2 separate regions of the Homo sapiens genome follow, and region 1 is linked to region 2. The links are contacts of gene promoters, found by promoter capture Hi-C in blood cells and fetal thymus (Javierre and others, 2016). All regions are on one chromosome and are shown on one strand. Each heading gives the region's core, a stretch centred on a gene start or on the middle of the fragment in contact. The rest is flanking DNA. Distances are from core to core; before and after follow the strand shown. Region 1 overlaps SH2B3 (SH2B adaptor protein 3). Region 2 holds the start of PHETA1 (PH domain containing endocytic trafficking adaptor 1).

Region 1 (3,947 bases), core at 720-3,219, 82 kb before region 2:
GTTATTCTGAAAGCAATACTGGTGCTTGGCTAATATTTGGGGAGGGGGTTTGTTAAGGCCTTTTTTTCTACCCCATGAACAAGTCTTCTGGGAGTTTTATCTGAAGTGGTTTTACGTCTGACTGGTTTGTTTCTACCCACCCACCCAACCCTCCCCACTTTGGTGCAGATGGGAGGGGGAAAAGCGAATTCAATTTTGAGTTTTGTTCAGCTAGCACGAGGATAGTTTACAATCATGTGCTGCAGAGACACTAGGCTGATGTGTGGTGTTGCCAGTTTTCTGTTTCAATGTTCGCTTTTCTTTTTACAGTACAAGCCCACCACCAACAGCAGTTGTAAGGCTGCCCTGGAGGAACCGAAAGGCCAAATTCCCTCCTCCCTTCTACTGCTTCTACCAACTGGAAGCACAGAAAACTAGAATTTCATTTATTTTGTTTTTAAAATATATATGTTGATTTCTTGTAACATCCAATAGGAATGCTAACAGTTCACTTGCAGTGGAAGATACTTGGACCGAGTAGAGGCATTTAGGAACTTGGGGGCTATTCCATAATTCCATATGCTGTTTCAGAGTCCCGCAGGTACCCCAGCTCTGCTTGCCGAAACTGGAAGTTATTTATTTTTTAATAACCCTTGAAAGTCATGAACACATCAGCTAGCAAAAGAAGTAACAAGAGTGATTCTTGCTGCTATTACTGCTAAAAAAAAAAAAAAAAAAAAATCAAGACTTGGAACGCCCTTTTACTAAACTTGACAAAGTTTCAGTAAATTCTTACCGTCAAACTGACGGATTATTATTTATAAATCAAGTTTGATGAGGTGATCACTGTCTACAGTGGTTCAACTTTTAAGTTAAGGGAAAAACTTTTACTTTGTAGATAATATAAAATAAAAACTTAAAAAAAATTTAAAAAATAAAAAAAGTTTTAAAAACTGATCAAGTTAGTGTGTGTCTGTATAAGCTACTTCTTTGTAGGATACTTAATATCAAAGCAGGTGTGCTAAGGGTGCATTTTGAATATCCCGGAAGGTAGCTGTGAAATGATTTTTCTTCTTCACCCTTAGTTCTGGTTCAAGGTATCTCTAGAAAAAGACAAGACTGAGCTATTCTCTTTGGTGGATTAGAGATCTGCTTCAGGAGGAGGAAGGTTGGCCAGAGTTGGGCAGCACTGAAATTCCACATCCTCGGGCTGACACCGATTCTGTAAGCTTCCTTTTTAATATCTCCTGAACCAAAATGAGTGTCATTAGCTGGAAGTTCCCAATTCGGGCATTTTTCTACTTTACCAGTAGGGGGCAGGAGACACTCAGAAAAAAATTGCAATAAAGAAATCCAGAGGGCATGAAGGCTGAAAAGATACAAAGATGTACAAAGCTGCTTATTGACATGGATGGACTCATAAGCATTTGTTAGTATTCCCAGATTGCAACGGGGAGGACAAAGGGAAGAGCGAGTATTTGGGCAGGGCAAGGATTTTGTAGAGACACCATGGTCTTAATAGAGCCTTTAAATATTATGACAGCAAATCAAGATTCTGAAAACTTTTTAATTCACATATAGCAATTTGTACATTATAGCAAAATTTGCATTATTCAAGAATAAGTTACTTGTACAGTACATAAAACAATACATAAAAATTTGCCAAATACCTTCTGCCTATAATGATACAAGATGAATCCACTTTATGTTATCACAATGTGCTGTATATTCTAACCAAACACAGGATGTCAGATGTGTCCTTGTTAATATACTCGCAAGTTCCTCTAGCTTGTGGGAGATGTTAGAGCTAACACATTTGCAGTAAGGGACTTAGTCCTGAATAGAAAGCATGAAGGAATCTCAGGCAACCCTCAGGGAAGAGTCCAAGGCCTTGACTTTAGGTTAAGAAACTGTTATGTAAAAATAGTGTTCTCTGGCCCAAGATTTTAATGATTGCTATTCCTTTTTCCTACGGTCCAGAAATGATCAAAGGCAGAAGATTTATACCAGATAAAGCCATATGGATTGCTGGTCTAAAATTCAAGGCAGGTTAGTTGACTTAATTCTTTGGTGCTGGTGACTGTTAGTTTGTAAAAGTTCAATAAGTCAGATGAAGGAAGGGATGGTGCCGGGAGCTGTCAAGCTGTACTGGTGGGGTCTGTAATTAGAGCTAACTGGAGGGATCATGATGTCTACTGTCCAGTTTGGTGTTGAGCCATGGCTCTCGGTAGAAGTTGCCGGCTGGGGCCTGGTCAGGACTGGAAGGAGAGTGGTGGGATGTGCTGTGCCTATGGTGGGCTAGCTGCAGCCAGTGGGGTGCCTGCCCCACACTGCTGCCCACCCCTTCATCAGCTGATTCTGCTCCCACATAAAGAAAGGTGTTGGCTTAGTGTCACTTCTTCCTAGAGCCATGGGAGTTTTCTGTCAGCATGTTTTTGAGCTGTCCTGGTAACTTGGACGGGAAGCAGTCTGGAGGTGGGTGCCTTCCAAATCTCTGCCACAGAATCTGAACTTGCACTTTGCAGCCTGTTAGTCAGAGCTGCTAAGTTTGCTCTACCTGGTGTGCCTCTTGGCACCACCTGAGAGATGTATGTAGAGAGGCTGCTAAGAAATGAGTGCCCCTGGCATGAAGACGTCATATCCCAGATGTTTAACTTCTGGCTGGAGGGAGGGAACTTAATTTGGTTCATTATCTACTGGGTACCTTTCCTGTGCGGAGGGGAGGACCAGTGACTTTCCATAATAAGCTTTCTCCTTTAAAAAAACTTCAGACTCTTACTTACTCTTTTGGTTCACACTAATTAGCATTCATTTTCCAGAGAAAGCTGCTTGACTTTGAGGAAATAAAGACAGGTGTCCTTAAAAATGGACTGCAAATCTGGATCAGTGTCAGGTCTGCTTTAGGGTCCATGAAATCACCCAAGAGTGTTGGTACTAAAAGTGGTGTAGGCTGGGCGCGGTGGCTCGCGCCTGTAATCCCAGCACTTTGGGAGGCCAAGGCGGGTGGATCACCTGAGGTCAGACATTCGAGACCAGCCTGGCCAACATGGTGAAACCCTGTCTCTACTAAAAATACAAAATTAGCCAGGCATGGTGGCTGGTGCTTGTAATCCCAGCTACTTGAGAGGTCGAGGCAGAATCGCTTGAACCAGGAAGGTGGAGGTTGCAGTGAGCCAAGATTGCACCACTGCACTCCAGCCCGGTTGACAAGAGAAACTCCATCTCAAAAAAAAAAAAAAGAAAAGTGCATAGGGGTTTGTTCCCCCACCCTCTGAAAGACCCCAAGGAAATTCTAGAAGCAAAAATTTGACCTCTTGGAGCACAGAGACTAAGTATAAGTGGAAGAAGCAGACCTAACCCTCCTCCCAGGCAGTCAGTCCTATGAGTTTTAGGCTGAGGTTTCATTTTAGCCTCTGATCGATGTATCTGTAAAGCTGATCTAAACTCCCAGTTTCCTAGAAGCCACTGCTGTGAGCCTGGGGGTTGTACTGAATGGCTCTGCTGGCACCCAAGAGCAGCTGACTCCACTGTCACTGCCCCCGTTTCTGAGCCTCCAGACAGGTTCTGGGAGGAGCCAGCCCCCTATGAATTGTATCACTTGTATAGATAGAGATTTGACTTCAGGACCTCCCTGGATGGTGGAGATTGTGTGTGCCCATGTGTGCAAGGAGATAGATAGATTCTCAATCCAGTGAAGCAGTAGCCAGCTAGAACAGAACACTGATTGTGGGCTATTAAAGGAGTTTCTCATTAGTTATGGCACCAGATTCCCAGCTTCCATTTTGGCTCAAAAAAGGAGCCTAAAACCCACTTGTGGGATAATTTAATAAGCCATTAGATGCTTGGAGGGCACCAAGCCAGCCTTGTTGCTGAAGGATTTACTAGAAAGGGCCTAGGAGTCCTTCTTCCCTTTTTGCTTGCTCTTCCCCTAGCCCCAGTTAATTTAACTATCACTGTAAAGCTGCTGT
Region 2 (3,465 bases), core at 29-2,528:
ACCCCCCCGATCTCTACAAAAAATTAAAAAAAATTAGCCGGGTGTGGTGGTACACACCTGTAGTCCCAACTACTTGGGAGGCTGAGGTGGGAGGCTCGGTTGAACCCAGGAGTTCAGGTTACAATGAGCTGTGATTGTGCCACTGCACCCCAACCTGGGTGACAAAAAAACACAAAAAACAAAAAACAAAAACAAAAAAACTGCACTCCCAGGCTTTCTGCCCCATTGCCTTAGCGTACAGTCCTAGCATGAATCACTTCCAGAACTCATTTGTGTTGTCTTGATTCCTGGCTGCACCTGCTTACCTGGTTCAGGTACAGTGCCTGGCACACAGTAGGCGCTTAGTGAGAGGCTGTACAATGGAGAGCTGACCCTGGTCTGTCCTGTTCTTCCTGCTTTCAGGCCAGGACTTAATAGTGATTGGGAGGTGGCGGGTGGTGGAGAAGAGGCGGCAGGAACAGGAAGGAAGGGTTCAAGGAGGTGGGCAGGGCAAAAACAACAGCAATTCCTATTTCTTGAGAGCTTTCTGTTGTGCCGTGCACTTTACATATCATGATGGTCTTTATTTTCCGGATGAGGAAACGGAGGCTTAGAGAAGTGAAATGATTTCTCTAAGCTCACACAGTGTTCAGTGGCCTAGTGCGACTCGAACTCAAGTCTGCCTAATTCCAGAACTTCCTCTCTTCACCTGGAGCCAGGGGAAGCTTGCGAGGCGCCCTGTCCGTATGGAACAGTGCTGTACGCAAATGTCCTGGATTCAGCTGTTTTTTCTGCCACTCACACATTTTTCAGGAATTAGAGCTATTTTTCTAATTTAACTGGGCATTAAATTTGCTAAACCTGGCAACCCAGGTTTAGCAAATATTTTTATTATTTGTAGAGATGGTGGTCTCCCTCTGCTGCCCAGGCTGGTCTTGAACTACTAGGCTCAGGCAATCCTCCTGCCTCGTCCTGGGGGGAGTTCGGACTTAAGCCTAGGACTTCAGCGAATGGCCCGCCCAGGACCCCCAAATGCTTTTGCAGGCTAATCCACGACCTGGGCCAGTCCTTACCTTTGGAATCGCAATGAGCTTCCCGGGCTCCAATCCGCTTTTCTGGGCTAGGGAACTGGGGAGTCGCGAGCCAGGAGCGGACCCTTTAAGAGTGATTTCGAGGGCGGGCTCACGGGGGCGTGCCGGTTCGGGGCCTGCCAATCGGGAGGTGGGAAGAACGCGGGGGCGGGCCCGGCGCGAGCAGGCTGGGAAGGGTTAAAGGGGCGCGCCCGTGGGTCGCGGACTGTCCGGTTGCTCCCGCCTCCTTCCGTCGGATCCGCGCTCTCCCGCGGCTGCGCCGGCCCGGCCGCCCAGGAGACAAAGCGCTGCCGCCGCCGTCGCCGCCACCGGGCCAGTCCCGAACCATGGCCGGGCCACCCCGCAACCTCGCGCCTCCCGTCCCGTCGCCGCCCTAGGCCTGCGCTGCGAGGTAAGGCGGGCCTGGCGGGGGGACATGCACGAGGACATGGGACCCGGGTCGGGCCGCCCTGGGCCTCGGGGTCCCCCGGCCACCTGGAGAGCGCGTTGCGGGGATCTTCCCCGCTGGGACTCCGCACCAGTGGTGACTTCTCCAGCTGCCGAGGCGAACTTGGCCAATGACCACCCTCCCCTCTCTCAGCCCATAGGGACGTCTGCCGCTGGTGGGGACTGCGGATAAGCCCCCCATTCTGCCGCTGATCACCCATCTGGGGCTCTGGCTGTCCTTTAAGGAACTTAAGAGAGCTCCCACGCACAACACACAAAGGGACAGAGAGCAGCCGGGAGCAGGGCCACACCTGGAGCAGCAGCCCCTGCCGTGGACAAGGGGGCTGCCTGTGTCTGGACGGCGGTGCTGGCGTGTCTCTGGGGTCCCTGCTGGGGCGGTGACGGCCAGGCTGCTCTTTAGTGTTCTTGGCACACATGTTTTTCAGCCTGTGCCTGCCACACCCTCTTCCCCACGCCCGCTGCTGGGGGACACTGAGGGCAGCTGGATTCAACCCCAGGACCTGCGGTACTGGCTTCTTTTCGTTGATGTGAGTGCCAAAATGCCATGCTTCAGTCTCCCAGGAGACCTGGGTTCCGGGGCCAGCTGTGCCCCTGGAGATCTTGGATGAATTATTTGCCTTTTTGACAGCTCTTTCCCTGAAAGCTCACTACCCACCAAGTATTTTGCAAAATGACTCTTCAGGAGTCAATTCACTCAGCCCTTAGAGGGATGGAAGTTAACGTCACCATTTTGCAGATGAGGCTGAGAAAAAACTCCGACTCACAGCAGCTAATATTTGCAATCCATTTCCCATAGTTTGCCAGTGGGTTTTCCTTCTTTTAGCTCATGAACCCTCGCCACACAGCCCAATTTAACAGATGAGGACACTGAGACTTGGAAAGGTGAAACGACTTGTCCAAGGTCCTCCAGCCTGGACCTGCGGAGGCAGGAACTTTGCCTTGGGAGCAGAGCTGGGCCAGGCTCCCTCCAGCTTCCTGTCTGGCCATGGGCTGTTGAATCAGCAGCAGTGCCCACAGTGGACTCTGAACTTCTTGGAAAACAGTGTGGGGAGATAAGGCAGGGGCCAGGCCTTCGCTCCAGGCAAGGCTGGCGCCTGTGCCCCTGCAGCTTCCTGTCTTCCCAGTTCTGGTGGAGGCAGGGGTCATGGGCAGAGCTGGGTCCTGTGCCTGCTGGTGACCTTGAACCAGTTTGGCCTCTATCTAGGCAGTCGGGGGAGGAGGGTTGCTGAGCAGGAGGGAAGTTGCTATTCCTTTGGCCTTGATGGGGTGGAGAGACCCCAAGATCAGCCCCTTTATTTGGGTGGCTTGCCTGGAGCATGTGATTCTGGGCACAGTTGTATGCCTCTAGCCAACTTATTGAATCTCCCTGTGTCCATTTCCACATCTGTGAATGTGGGGTGAGATCCCTTGTCTTGGGGCTGTTGAAAGGTTTCAGAAGATACTGCAGAATGAATCAAACAGCTGTGTGAGTACCTACTGCATGCCAGGCACTAGAATTCAGACCACAAACGCCCCTGCAGGCAGAAATGACCCAGGTATTAATTTCAGGTGGAGGCACAGGAGAGGGACTGGGGGGCCTCTTGTGCATAGGGTGGCCAGGGACCACCTCTCTGAGGAGGTGACAGCTAGGCTGAGACCAAAGGATGGGGAGCTGGCCTTGTGAAGACCTGCAGGCAGACAGCCGGGACCAAGTCTTGGAGGTGGGGATGTGTCTGGTGTATTTGAGGAACAGAAAGGAGGCCAGGATGGCTGGAGCTGAGTGAACAAGGGGGAAAGAGGTAGGGAAAGGGAACTTGGAAGCCAAGGGAGGCTTGGATTTTTTTTTTTTTTTTTTTGAGACAGAATCTCACTATGTCACCCCCCAAGTTCAAGGGGTCCTTCCATGTTAGCCTCCCAGATAGCTAGGACTAGAGGCTTGTATCACCATGCCCAGCTATTTTTTTTTCTA

The links. Contacts are between HindIII fragments. The CHiCAGO score rates a contact against its expected background, and 5 or more counts as called.
Region 1: a contact is called between a fragment that was not itself captured here and the fragment with the promoter of PHETA1 in region 2, in 4 of 17 cell types (megakaryocytes, M2 macrophages, M1 macrophages and 1 more). The highest score is 7.1, in megakaryocytes.

The regions. Positions count from the first base shown.
Region 1 is chr12:111,449,203-111,453,149 of GRCh38, reverse strand. SH2B3 (SH2B adaptor protein 3) reads right to left here. Exons shown (of 8, transcript NM_005475.3): 8 at 1,527-3,947. ATXN2 (ataxin 2) reads left to right here. Exons shown (of 25, transcript NM_001372574.1): 25 at 310-936. The coding sequence ends at 338. Among named protein-coding and RNA genes, the nearest start is that of SH2B3, 45 kb to the right of the region's middle. The HindIII fragment of the contact is 1,518 bases long and covers 1,211-2,728 here.
Region 2 is chr12:111,366,908-111,370,372 of GRCh38, reverse strand. PHETA1 (PH domain containing endocytic trafficking adaptor 1) reads left to right here and starts at 1,278. Exons shown (of 3, transcript NM_144671.6): 1 at 1,278-1,461. It overlaps LINC02356 (long intergenic non-protein coding RNA 2356), which reads right to left and starts at 1,112. Exons shown (of 4, transcript NR_187522.1): 1 at 1,053-1,112. RefSeq lists a silencer at 1,108-1,687. The HindIII fragment of the contact is 8,438 bases long and covers 707-3,465 here.